Regions from separate parts of the Homo sapiens genome. Here region 1 is linked to region 2. The links are contacts of gene promoters, found by promoter capture Hi-C in human tissues and cell types (Jung and others, 2019). All regions are on one chromosome and are shown on one strand. The core of a region is centred on a gene start or on the middle of the fragment in contact, and the rest is flanking DNA. Distances in the headings are between cores, read along the strand shown.

Region 1 (7,358 bases), core at 2,752-5,251, 80 kb after region 2:
GTCTCAAACTCCTGGCCTCAAGCAATCCTTCTGCCTCTGCCTCCCAAATTGCTGGGATTACAGGTGTGAGCCACTGCACCTGGCCTCCTTTCATTTTTTAAAAACTTTTTATTTTGAAAAATTTCAAATTTACACAAAAGAAACAAACAGAATATTATAAGGAGTTCTTGCATATCTTTCACTCAGATGCATTAATAACGTCCTGTTGCATTTGTTCTCTCTTTTTTTTTTTTGAGATGGAGTTTCACTGTGTCACCTAGGCTGGAGTGTATGGGTGCAATCTTGGCCCACCGCAACCTCTGCCTACTAGGTTCAAGCGATTCTCCTGCCTCAGCCTCCTGAGTAGCTGGGATTACAGGCATGTGCCACCATGCCCAGCTAATTTTTGTATTTTTAGTAGAGACGGGGTTTCACTATGTTGGCCAGGCTGGTCTTGAACTCCTGGCCTCAAGTGATGCACCCACCTCGGCCTCCCAAAGTGCTGGGATTATCTCTTTCTCTTCCTTTCTCCATAAACGTGTGTGTGTGTGTGTGTGTGTGTGTGTGTGTGTGTGTGTTTGTATACTTTTTTTCCTGAACAACTTGAAGGTTAAGTTGTGGACACATTTATACACTAATCTTTGAGTGTGTATTTCCTAAGAACAAATCTGTTTTATTATATGACCAAAATATAATTAGAAAATATAGGAAAGTTAGGCTGGGTGCGGTGGCTCACACCTGTAATCTCAGCACTTTGGGAGGCCGAGGCAGGTGGATCACAAGGTCAAGAGTTTGAGACCAACCTGGCCAACATGGTGAAACCCTGTCTTGCCTAAAAATACAAAAATTAGCCAGGCATGGTAGCGGGCACCTGTAATCCCAGCTACTCAGGAAGCTGAGGCAGGAGAATCACTTGAACCCGGGAGGCGGAGGTTGCAGTGAGCCGAGATTGTACCATTGCATTCCAGCCTCAGCGATAAGGGCAAGACTCCATCTCAAAAAAGAAAAAGAAAATGTAGGAAAGTTAAACTTGATCCTGTTATCTAATACTGAATACTGTTATCTAATCTATAATTGGTATGCCAAATTTCACCAGTTTCCAATCACGTATCTTACAGCTATTTTTTCTCAGTCCAGGCTACAATCAGGATGCGCATTACATGTTGTTGTCAGGTGCTATTACTCTTCTTTCATCTAGAAGTGTTGCTCAATCTTTCTTTGTCTCTCATGTCCTTGGGAGTTTTCTAAATGAAAGTAAATCTGAAAGCATTCTCGTGGCTGTGACTTCTCTAAATGCTAACTCAGGGGGAAAAAAAAGGAAAGAAATACTTTTCAGTTCCTTGCCTTTGAAGCCTCCGGACAGGTGGGTTTGACAACATCTATTTTGGTCATGCCTGGGCAGTTCTGGCTTATCCATCTACACTAGTCTCAAATGATCCTGGGATTTGCTCTTGGGTACACAGTAGATGCTTAATAAGTAACTTGCTGATGTGCCAGGAGAGAAAGTGAATTGGACCACTGGGTGGAATAACTCAAATGACATTCCAGGAAGGTTTTGCTGCTGTAGATAGAGAGACAAAGGGCTGGCTCTTTCAGGCTGTGTCAGCCCAAGGGCAACATGCAGTCTTGGACTTCATTATCTTATTTCTATTACATAGTGCACTAAGGTTCTCTTTCTCCTCAAATTCCCCAGCAGGAGAGATAGGACTTTCCACTGCAGGCTGTTCAATTCACCAAGAAGAGGAAGCAAATCACAGATCCTGACAGATCCTGCTGTCAGGACTTGGCCAATTTTGAGATGTAATTAAAAAAAATTGTTTATTTTTATTAAAAAAAAAAAGAGTTGGAGTCTCTATGTTTCCCAGACTGGTCTTGAACTCCTGGGCTCAAGTGATCCTCCTGCCTCGACCTCCCAAAGAGCTGGGATTACAGGTGCTCAGCAGACATGTAATTTTTGATCTCCAGCCTGGGGTGTATACATCTGGATTATTTCCTCAGGAATAAGAGAACAGAGCCTTGAAATCAACCTGTTTGAAATCAGCCAGCCTCCAGGATGATCCCGGTCTACGGCCATAGCACCTTGAATGCATCTGATCTCATCTTTTTTTGTTTGTTTGTTTTGTTTTGAGACGGAGTCTCACTCTGTCACCCAGGAGTGCAGTGGCACAATCTCGACTCACTGCAGCCTCCCTGCTTCAAGCGATTCTCCTGCCTCAGCCTCCCGAGTAGCTGGACTACAGGTGCCCGCCACCACACCCAGCTAATTTTTTGTATTTTTAGTAGAGATGGGGTTTCACCCTGTTAGCCAGGAGGTCTCGATCTCCTGAACTTGTGATCTGCCTGCCTCGGCCTCCCAAAGTGCTGGGATTACAGGCACTACCCATCACGCCCATCCTGATCACATCTTTTCTTGGAAGCTAAGCAAGGATGGGCCTCGTTAGTACTTGGATGGGACACCAAGATGGTCCCTGCTGATCCTACCACCCCTGGTATCCACCTCTTCCTGTAGTCCCTTTCCTATGAATCAGGGCTGGCATACATGAACAATACAATAGGGTGACAGTGACTGGGTGTGACATCCGATGCTTAGTCATAAAAGATAATGCAGCTTCCACACTCATCTCTTGTCTAGCTTGTTTTGGAGGAAGCCAAGTTCTTTGAGCATACTCAGGTGTCCATGTGGACAGGACCTGAGGCGCCCAGCCAATAGCTGGCACCAACTTGCCAGCTATGTGAGTGAACCACCTTCAGTGTGGATCCTCTAGCTCCAGGCCAAGCCTTCGGATCCTTGCCACACTGACCAGCATCTGACTGCAGCCTCACGAGCAACCTGGAGGGCTCCAAACACCTGACCCTCAGAAACTGTGAGTGATAATAATTATTGTTTTCTGCCAGGCACAGTGGCTCACGCCTGTAATCCAAGCACTTTGGAGGCCAAGGCAGGTGGATCACCTGAGGTCGGGAGTTTGAGACCAGCCTGACCAACATGGAGAAACCCTGTCTCTACAAAAAATACAAAATTAGCCAGGCGTGGTGGCAGGCACCTGTAATCCCAGCTACTCGGGAGGCTGAGGCAGGAGAATCGCTTGAACTCGGAAGGCAGAGATTGCAGTGAGCCGAGATCGCACCACTGTACTCCAGCCTGGGCAACAGGAGTGAAACTCTTGTTATCTTATTATTATATATTATTATTATTATTATTGTTATCTTAAGCCATAAAGTTTTGGGGCAATTTTCTACACAGCAGTAGGTAATTCATATGATTCTCTTGAAAAGTATAAAGAGAGGTCGGGCGCGGTGACTCACGCCAATAATCCCAGCACTTTGGGAGGCTGATGCAGGCAGATTGCTTGAGGTCAGGAGTTGGAGGCCAGCCTGGCCAACATGGTGAAACCCCATCTCTATTAAAAATACAAAAATTAGCCAGGTGTGGTGGTCCATGCCTGTAATCTCAGTTACTCGGGAGGCTGAGACAGGAGAATCACTTGAACCCTGGAGGTGGAGGTTGCAGTGAGCCAAGATCACACCACTGCACTCCAGCCTGGGCGACAAGATTCTGTCTCAAAAAGAAAAAGAAAAAAAAGAAAAGTATAGGGCTGGGCGCGGTGGCTCACGCGTATAATCCCAGCACTTGGGAGGCCGAGGCGGGCGAATAACAAGGTCAGGAGATCGAGGTCATCCTGGCTAACACGGTGAAACCCCCTGTCTACTAAAAATACAAAAAATTAGCCGGGCATGGTGGTGGGCGCCTGTAGTCCCAGCTACTCAGGAGGCTGAGGCCGGAGAATGGCGTGAACCCGGGAGGCGGAGCTTGCAGTGAGCCGAGATCGCGCCACAGCACTCCTGCATGGGCGACAGAGCGAGACTCTGCCTCAAAAAAAAGAAAAGAAAAGAAAAGTATAAAGAGGCACATGACCCAGAAATTTAACTCCTAGGCATATGCCAAAGAGAAATGAAAACATGTCAGCCAGATGTGATGGCTCAAGCCTGTAATCCCAGCACTTTGGGAGGCCGAGGGCAGGCAGATCACTTGAGGTCAGGAGTTCCAGACCAGCCTGACCAACATGGTGAAACCCCATCTCTACTAAAATACAAAAATTAGCTGGGCATGGTGGTGCACACCTGTAATCCCAGCTACTCAGGAGGCTGAGGCAGGAGAATCGCTTGAACCCGGGAGGCAGAGGTTGCATTGAACCAAGATCGCGCCACTGCCCTTCTGCCTGGGTGATAGAGCGAGACTCCGTCTCCAAAAAAAAAAAAGAAAAGTCCACACCAAAACTTGTACCCGAATGTTCATAGCAACATTATTCATAATAGCCAAAAAATGAAAACAACCCAAATGTCCATCAACTGATGAATGAATAAAGGAAATGTGGGGCCAGGCGCATTGACTCATGCCTGTAATCTCAGTACTTTGAGAGACTGAGGCAGGTGGATTGCTTGAGTCCAGGAGACCAGTCTGAGCAACACAGTGAGATCCCATCTCTACAAAAAATACAAAAAGTAGCCAGATGTGGTGATTGGCATGTGCCTGTAGTCCTAGCTACTCGGGAAGCTGAGACAGAAGGATCGCTTGAGCCCAGGAGTTGAGGCTACAGGGAGCTGTGATCACGCCACTGCACTCCAGCCCGGGTAACAGAGCAAGACTCCCAACTGGGGGTGGGCAAAAAAAAAAAAAAAGGCGGCCAGGCACAGTGGCTTATGCCTGTAATCTAAGCATTTTGGGAGGCCGACACGGGTGGATCACAAGGTCAGGAGTTCGAGACCAGCCTGGCCAAGATGGTAAAACCCTTCTCTACTAAAAATACAAAAATTAGCCAGGCATGGTGGTGGGTACCTGTAATCCCAGCTACTTGGGAGGCTGAGGCAGAAGAATCGCTTGAACCTAGGAGGCAGAGGTTGCAATGAGCCAAAATTGTGCCACTGCACTCTAGCCTGGGTGACAGAGCAAGACCCTGTCTCAAAAAAAAAAAAAAAAAAAAAAGAAAAAAAGAAAAGACAAAGACAGGGAGGAGCAAAATAATGAAAGAATAATTCTAACCTACTAGACACTGTACAATGAGAATCATGAATTGTAATCCCAAGATTTTCTTGCCTTTGGGGAAGAAATTAATAGTATTAATAGAATCCAGATTCCTAATTAAGTCCTGGTGAGAATATGATGCTTCTCTCGTCTGAGAATGACAGCCATTGTCAAGAGCAGCCTTGACCCACTGAAGCTGTAGCCCAGGTGTTAAGACCAGATTTTAAAAAATCAACTCAGATTGCTGATGTTTTAGCCCAGGGCATTTGTTGTGAACTCCCTGGAATTACAGATAAAAAATGGTTCCATTTCATTTATACATACCAATATGTGGGGTTCCAAAAAGTTTTGTAATTATTACTTTCAAAATAAAATCTGATCCTACTTATTCCTGTCTCCTCATTCAAAATGTTCTTTAGAAATAATTCTTTAGCTGGGTGCAGTGGCTCACACCTGTAATCCCAGGACTTTGGGAGGATGAGACAGGCGGATCACTTGAGCTCAAGAGTTCAAGACCAGGCTGGGCAACATGGTGAAACCCCGTCTTCACAAAAAATACAAAAATTGGCCGGGTGTGGTGGCTCACACCTGTAATCCCAGCACTTTGGGAGGCTGAGGTGGGTGGATCACCTGAGGTCAGGAGTTTAAGACTGGCCTGGCCAACATGGTGAAACCTCCCTCTCTACTAAAAATATAAAAATTAGCCAGGCGTGGTAGTGTGTGCCTATAGTCCCAGCTAGCTACTCAGGAGGCTGAGGCAGGAGAATCGCTTGAACCTGGGTACAAGCTTGAACCTCAAGCAGAGGTTGCAGAGAGCCGAGATAGCACCACTGTACTCCAGCCTGGGCAACAGAGCAAGACTCCATCTCAAAAAAAAAAAAAGTACAAAAATTAGCCAGGTGTGGTGATGCGTGCCTGTGGTTCCAGCTACTCAAGAGGCTGAGGTGGGAGTATTGCTTGAGCCTGGGAGGTCAAGGCTGCAGTGAGCTGAGCTGTGACTGAGCCACTGTACTCCAGCCTGAGAGAGAGAATGAGCTCATATGTCTAAAAGATAATAATAATAATTTTTTATTGTTCAGAATTAACTTTTATAATTTTAGAGACCAAGGATAATCGAGATAGCCTGTAATTATTTAGCATAAATAAAGGAGAGAGACATGAAGACTTGTTTTTTGTTTTGTTTTCGTTTTAGACACAGGGTCTTGCTCTGTCACCCATGCTGGAGTGCAAAGGGATAATCAGCTCACTGCAGCCCCTAACTCCTGGGCTCAGGTGATCCACCTGCCTCAGCCTCCCGAGTAGCTGGGACTACAAGTGTATGTCATCATGCCCAGCTAATTTTTGTATTTTTTGTAGAGACAAGGTTTCGCTATGTTGCCCAGGCTGTTATTGAGCTCCTGGCCTCAAGCAATCCTACTGCCTCAGGCTCCCAAAGTAATGAGATTCCAGGAGTGAACCCCCATGCCTGGCCTATAAAATGTTTTTTAACCTTTATTTAAGGTAAATTGTCGTCCCATTTTGCACATGAGGAAAGTGAGACCGAATGGATAATTAGTAACTTGTTCAGGTTGATATGGGTAATACACATAACTGGGATCCCCAGTACTGTTCCATGTTGCCTCTGCAGACACACAATAGGATTGAAGAAAAGGTGTGAAATATCTTACGAATGGCACCATGCTGGCCATCTTCTGCCACAAAATATAAGATCCGAGATTTCATTATTCTATCCACTTGCAGCCCCAAATTCAAAACAAATACATTAATGTGCATTATAACAGACATTAAAAATACTCAGATTTCTTGTATTTCTTAATCTTGTTCTTGGTGTCTTATGTCGAAATGAGGAAATTTAGGATCATTTTAATTGGTGAATTTTTTTACTCTGGGATCCAGAAGTCTGTTAGAACTCCTATTTATAAAACTGCTAAGTGAACTATGCCAAGAACTTACCCAAACCCCTCACTTGGCTGTCATTAGTGTCACCAGTCAATGTTTTATTTTTATGTATGAAAAAAATGCCTTGCTATCATCAAAGTAGGCTGGGGGGATTTCTTCTGGTGGGGATGGGGGTGTAGCAAGGAAGATTGTGAAGAGGTCCATAATGATCTTCCGGAATGGGACTGGGGTGAGGCAACTGCAAAATTAAGTGTGCCCCAAACCCCACTATTAATCAAGATAAGTGCCATTTTTATGCAATATTTTTAAAAATCAAAATTAATGCAGAAAAATCCATGATGAGCAAAACATCAACATTTTCAGTAAAGGCAGGATCCAACAGGGCTGAGATTAGGGGGGTGGTAAGTGATGTGAGTCATGCGAATGCAAAGTCTGTCTTATTTAAAAGTTTGATATT
Region 2 (7,118 bases), core at 4,329-6,828:
ATAAAACATATTCAACAGGCCAGGCACAGTGGCTTATGCCTGTAATCCTAGCACTTTGGGAGGCTGAGGTGGGTGTATCACATGAGCTCAGGAGTTTGAGACCAGCCTGGGCGACACGGCAAAACCCTGTCTCTACAAAAAATACAAAAATTAGCCGGGTGTGATGGTGGGAGCCTGTGGTCTCAGCTACTTGGGAGGTTGAGGTGGAAGGATTGCTTGCAAGCCCGGGAGGTTGAGACTGCAGTGAGCTGTGATCGTGCCACTGCACTTCAGCCTGGGCCACAGAGCAAAACCCTGTCTCAACAACAACAACAACAACCAAAAAAAAAAAAAAAAAAAAAGAAAAGAAAAGAAAAGAAAAAATATTCAACAGGATTCAACACCCTTTCTTAATAAAAACAAAATAAAAATAAAACAAACTCAGGAAACTAGATCCTCAAGATCCTCAAGCTGATAAAAGACATCTACTGAAAAATTATATTAAATTGTGAAAGACTGAATGCTTTCCTCCTAAGATTAGGAACAAGACAGGGATGCTAACTTCACCATTTCTATTCAACACTGTACTGAAAGTCCTAGCCAGTGCAACAAGGCAAGGAAAAAAGAGGCATACAGATTGGGAAGAAAGGTGGAAGCAAAGCTGTCTCTATTAGCAGACGACATATTTATTACATAGATAATTCTAAGAAATCCATAAAATAATTACAGGAACTATAAGTGAATTTGGCAAGGTATAAGATAGTAAGTCAATGTACAAAATCAATTATATTTATCTAGACTGGCAGCAAACAATTGGAAAATGAAATAATTTCATTTATAGGGGCATTAAAAAACGAAACATTTAGAAATAAATTTAATAAAAGATGCTAAAGATGTCTACATTGAAAACTACAAATTAAACTGAAGTAAATGGTTCATGAAATGTAAGGTTTTTAAGGTGTCTTTTTTCTGTAAATTCATCTATAAGCACTTTTGTAAAATTAAGAAGCTGATTTTTTTTTTTTTCTTCTAGAAACAGGGTCTCACTCTGCCACCCGGGCTGCAGTGCAGTGGCACAATCATAGCTCACTGTAGCCTCCAACTCCTGGGTTCAAGCAATCCTCCTGCCTCAGCCTCCCAGGCAGCTGAGACTATAGGTGCCCACCACCATGCCCAGCTAATTTTTACATTTTTTTAAAGAGATGAGGTCTTGCAGGCCAGGCACAGTGGCTCACGCTTGTAATCTCAGCATTTTGGAAGGCCGAGGTAGGCGGATCTCCTGAGGTCAGGAGTCCAAGACCAGCCTGGCCAACATGGTGAAACCCTGTCTCTACTAAAAATACAAAGAAATTAGCTGGGCATGGTCGTGGGCACCTGTAATCCCAGCTACTCAGGAGGCTGAGTCAGGAGAATTGCTTGAACCCGGGAGGCGGAGGTTGTACTGAGCCTAGATCATGCCACTGCACTCCAGCCTGGGTGACAGAGTGAGACTCGTCTCAAAAAAAAAGAGATGAGGTCTTGCTATGTTGTCGAGGTTGGTCTTGAACTCCTGAGCTCAAGCAATCCTTGTGCCTCAGCCTCCAAAGTGCTGGGATTACAGGAATGAGCCACAGTGCCCAGCAAAAAATAATAACTTTTTTTGTAATAATTTTAGATTTACAGAAAAGTTGCAAAAATAATACAATGAGTTTCTGTATACTCACTCAATTTTCCATAAAGATAGCATTTTACATTACCATAATATGTTTGTCAAAAGTAAGAAATCAACACTGGCACCTTACTGTTTTATTTGGATTTCACTAATTCTTCCCCAGTGCCCTTTTTCTGTTCTAGGATCCAGTCCAGGATACTATACTGCGTTTAATTGTCATGTCTCCTTAGTTTACTTGAGTCTGTGACAATTTCTCAATCTTTCCTTTTTTTTTTTTTTTTTTTATGAGCTTGTCAGTTTTGAGGAGTACTGGTCAGGCATTATGTAGAATGTCCCTCAGTTTGGGTTTACCTGATGTTTTTCCCATGCTTGGACTATGGTTATGGATTTTGTGGAAGAATGCCACAGTGGCAACATGCCCTTTTCATCACATCACACCGGGGGTACATGCTGTCAACATGATTTATTATGGAGATGTTTTAATTTGATCACTTGGTCAACAAGCTGATTTTAAATTGTGTGTGGGGCCGGGCATGGTGGCTCATGCCTGTAATCCCAGCACTTTGGGAGGCCGAGGTGGGCGGATCACCTGAGGTCCGGAGTTTGAGACCAGCCTGGCCAACATGGTGAAACCCCCTCTCTACTAAAAATATGAAAATTAGCCAAGTGTGGTGGTGGGGGCCTGTAATCCCAGCTACTCTGAACCCGGGAGGTGTAGGTTGCAGTGAGCTGAGATTGTGCCATTGCACTCCATCCAGTCTGGGTGATGAGAGTGAAAAAAAAAAATGTATGTGGAAATACAAAGGATCTAGAATAGCAAAAATAATTTTCAAAAGTTAAGAGCAAAGCTATAAGACTTATATTACCTGATTTAGTGCCTTACAATAATCAAGACTGTGGAATTGGCACAAGGATAAACAAATAAGTCATCGGAACAGAGTAGAAATTTCAGAAGGAGAACCACACTTATATGATCAATCAATTTTCGACAGATACAGGAAAACAATTCAAGGGGGAATTGTGTTTTCATCAAATGGTGCAGGAACAAGTGGGTATCCACATGGAAAAAAAGAGGCTAAGAAACCTGCCCAAGGTCACCAAGTTTGTGAGTGGCAGGGACAGGTATTCCAAGCCAGACTTTCTGGCTAACATGTGCTATCAATTGTAAATATAAATTTATAACCAAAACATTTAGGTCACAATAATTTTTCAGTGTAAAATTCAATTTGAGGCTATACTATTTAAAAATGTCAATGTCATGAAAGCAAAAGCAAAGTTAAGGAAATGTTCTAGATTAAAGGGGACTCAAGAGACTTAGCTAAGTGCAATACATGATCCTGAACTGGATCCTGGGTCATACAGGCACACTAAAATTTCACAAAGGACATGAATGCAATAATGGAAAATAATATGGAGAGTATGTTAGATAATAATTTTGTGTGAATGTTAAATTCTCTGAATTTGAAATTCATACTGCAGTTACGTGACAATATGTTCTTATTTTTAGAAGATACATGTAGAATTATTTGGCTGTAAAGGGTGGTGATATCTGAAATAGTTCAGCATTATTAACAACAATGATCAAAATAATATGGAAAAAATCAAATATTGAAAAATATTAACAGTTGGTAAACCTAAGCTAAAAGTATATGGTCATTCATTGTATTATTCTTGTAACTTACTTATTTGAAATTCTAAAAACATTTTCAAATATAATGTTACAGGTATATATCACTTAAGTGCTAGAATTTGTAATTTTTTTATTTTTTATTTTTATTTATTTATTTTTATTTTTTTGAAACAGGGTTTCGCTCTGTCATCCAGGCTGGAGCACAGTGGTGCGATCATACATCACTGCAGCCTCGACTTCCCAGGCTCAAGCCATCCCCAGATCTCAGCCTCTCAAATATCTGGGATTACAGTTGTGTGCCACCATGCGTAGATAATTTTTGTATTTTTTGAAGAGACAAGAGCCTCACTATGTTGCCCAGCCTGGTCTTGAACTCCTGGGCTCAAGTGATCTGTCCACCTCGGCCTCCCAAAGTGCTGGAATTACGGGGCTTGAGCCACCACATTCAGCCTGTAAATGTTTTTATTTCTTTCAGAGATTTTGTTTCTTATGTTATCTCTCTACTCCCAATGCCTATCATAAGACTTGTAACAGTAAATAGTAAATGTCTGGAATAAATGTAAATATTTGAATCTAGAGTTTGTGGAGGATCCTAAGAATCTTGTGAGATTGCTCTCATAGTGTCAGTCTAACTAGGGAGGTAAAATACGTAAAGTTAAAATTTACAGACGTAGCAGGCTTCCCAAAATAGTAATATGCTTTCTTAGGTACTACAAAGGGATGGAAGCACTGGAGCTCAAAACGGTAGGAGAAGTTTGAAAATAGAAGAAACTGAAGAGGAACTTGAAAAGCCGGTAGGCATTGAAAGGAAGAGGAGTCCTTGGGACAGCAATTGAGGGTAGAATGTGGAGTATCCCATGTTTCTACCACCATTCAGAATCCGATTTTCAAATGAATTCTGTGATGATCAGGATCAATCTGCACTATTTTAGTCTCTAAGTGATCTAAAATTAACTTGGTGGACCTGGGATGACCACGGATGTGGTTTTAAACCAGCAGGTTTCAGAGTCGGGGCGGGTGCAACAGGCTTATAAAGGGAATGGTGGAAAATATTATACGTTAGTGAAAGAGGTTGCGAATGGATTGTGGAGAGCCCTGAATGGTAGACTGCGAGAGTGACAGGATGAAAACGACGACATCATAGGAAGAGCAATCTGTCAGTTGTAATGGCAGTTAAAAAGTGGCGCACAACACTGTACCTTAACCAAACTTGGAATTCCAAAGTGCTGGGACCTCTAGCGGAGAGCAGTTGAGTTCAATTCTATTTTAGATCACGTAGAGACTAAAATAGTGCCGATTGATCCTGATCATCACAGAATTCGTTTGAAAATCGGATTCTGAATGATGGTAGAAACATAGGATACTCCACATTCTACCCCCAATTGCTGTCCGGGACAGCAATTGCCTTTCTAATCGACTGCCATGTTTAGCGATTACTATGCGCCAAGCGCTTTACAGGCACTCTCATTAAAATAGGCAAACCGGGCCAGGCGCGGTGGCTCACGCCTGTAATCCCAGCACTTTGGGAGGCCTACGCAGGCGGATCACCTGAGGTCAGGAGTTCGAGACCAGCCTGGCCAACATGGTGAAACCTACTCTCTACTAAAAATACAAAAATTAGCCGGGCGTGGTGGCGCATGCCTGTAGTTCCAGCTAGTCGAGAGGCTGAGGTAGGAGAATCGCTTGAACCTGGGAGGCGGAGTTTGCAGTAAGCCGAGATCGTGCCACTGCACTCTGGCCTAGGAGACAGAGCGAGAACTTGTCTCAAAAAAAAAAAAAAAAAAAAAAAAGGCAAACCCCTCTGTAAGAGAGTGCTTTATCAAGCCCATTTTACTGATGGGGAAATTGAGGAGAGACGGGATTGGCCAGATCACGACCTGGAGGCAGCAAAGATGTAAAATCAGGGTTGGGATACAGGCTGCGCCGGTAGTGTAGGGGATAGGAACTTTCTGAGACTCAGGAGAAAGCCACAGCGATGGGAAGGGAAGCAGAACACTGGAGACCCTAAAGGCCCACAGGCTGAGAGAAGTGGTACCTCTCCTGAAGTGACACCTGTCAGCACGCCTCTTTTGGGCGCCAGTCCAAAAATCGCGGTATCTGATTGGCGAGGTTGGAGGGGGCTGAACGACCCTAATTGGTTAGTTGGACCTCGAACCAGACTTTCATCTGGAGGATCGGGCGAGGAGTGGGCGGGATTTCGAACTGAGCCACTCCCTTCATTGGTGAAAAGAAAACGAACCAGGAACTATTCGGAAGTGTGATTGGCTGTTGCTAGGAACCGTCTCAAGGCCTTATGGGCCCTGGTTACGGAAGCCGAGGAAGGCTGAGCGCGGGCTCTCAAGGAAAGTAGTCGCGGAATCTCAGTTAGCGGTGGAGAGGCAGTATGTCCGGTTCAATGGCGACTGCGGAAGCTAGCGGCAGCGATGGGAAAGGGCAGGAAGTCGAGACCTCAGTCACCTATTACCGGTTGGAGGAGGTGGCAAAGCGCAACTCCTTGAAGGAACTGTGGCTTGTGATCCATGGGCGAGTCTACGATGTCACCCGCTTCCTCAACGAGGTGGGGCCTGGGAGGTGGGAGGCCTCTGAAGCTGCTGGGGCGAGGGGTGAAAAGGCTGTGTGGAGTGTATGTGGGAAGGAAGGGAGGCTTGGCTGGGGGCGATAAGGCGTAAGAAAGGGATCACGACCCTCAGAGGGAAACTGGGGTGGGATTGGGGGAGGGCTTTAGTTTGCATGCATTTCCAGTCAGCTCCGAGTTCTGGTGCCTTATGTAATATCATGTATTACTTATGTGTCGAGCATTTGCTGTGTGCTCAGCTAAACTCTAAGCCATCATTATCTTTATTTTACAGAAAGGGAAACTGAGGCTCACAGGTTGAGGACTCTCAGGGCCATAGAGTTAGCAGCTTAGATCCGTTGAACCTAGGTCTGAAGTGCACCCACATCTGTGCTTTTCCAGTGTGCCTTCTGAAGTAATACCGGTTTTGGTTTTCGTCTTCTAGAGTAGAAGCTGAGATTTCTCTCCACACGCTTCCCCATCTTGATTATGCCTCCACTGTTTTTTTTTCCCCCTAATCTGAGTTGACCTTGAGGCCAGAAACTCATAAATCAACCCTTTTTTTTTGTTTTTGACTCATGTTTTGTCATTTTTCTTAAATATTCAAGACTGTTTTATTTAATCTTCAAGTCTGTTGCATTACATCTCATTTTAAAAATTATTTTTGAGACCATGGTGCAACTAATTTTTTTTTTAAGGAAACAGGATAGACTTCTAAATATTTAAAACTTTATTGAGGTGTAATGTACATACGTAAATTGTGCCTATCTAAAATGTACATTTTGATGAGTTTTGAAAAATGTATTCATCCATGTTAAGACATAAACCATTTCCATCATTCTAAAAAGCTTCCTTTCCCTTTGCAGTCATTCTCTCCCAACCCCAGGCAACTAGTGATATGCAGCCGCTAAAGATTGGTTTGAAGCTTTGATTTTCGGTGTGTGTATGTTTGAAGCTTTGATTTTCGGTTTGTGTGTGATCATTTTATTTTGAGCAATAGATTAATGACTTGTGAAAGTTCACTTCTATTTCTCTGAAGCAAATATACTAGTGAAATATTTTTTCGATTAATTTGGGGCCTAAAAGAGAAATCTCTGCATCCTGACTTTTAATTCTAAAAACTTTTAAAATTTAAAAGTTTCCCCCAAAGAACATTATTTTTAATAAATCTTAATAGTGAACAATAATTTAACAAACTCAGAATTTACTAACTTCTTGCATTTGTATGGTGTATGGCATTTTATGCTTTTAAAAGTGCTTTCCGGTCGGGCGCGGTGGCTCACGCCTGTAATCCCAGCACTTTG

The links. Contacts are between HindIII fragments. The study calls those that stand out against the background at their distance.
Region 1: a fragment that was not itself captured here is called in contact with the fragment with the promoter of CYB5B in region 2 in 2 of the 25 tissues and cell types used here (heart left ventricle and liver).

The regions. Positions count from the first base shown.
Region 1 is chr16:69,500,874-69,508,231 of GRCh38, forward strand. No RefSeq gene overlaps it. Among named protein-coding and RNA genes, the nearest start is that of MIR1538, 61 kb to the right of the region's middle. The HindIII fragment of the contact is 5,426 bases long and covers 1,289-6,714 here.
Region 2 is chr16:69,419,041-69,426,158 of GRCh38, forward strand. It overlaps CYB5B (cytochrome b5 type B), which reads left to right and starts at 5,579. Exons shown (of 5, transcript NM_030579.3): 1 at 5,579-5,817. The coding sequence starts at 5,644. RefSeq lists enhancers at 4,862-5,409, 5,410-5,957. The HindIII fragment of the contact is 13,364 bases long and covers 1-7,118 here.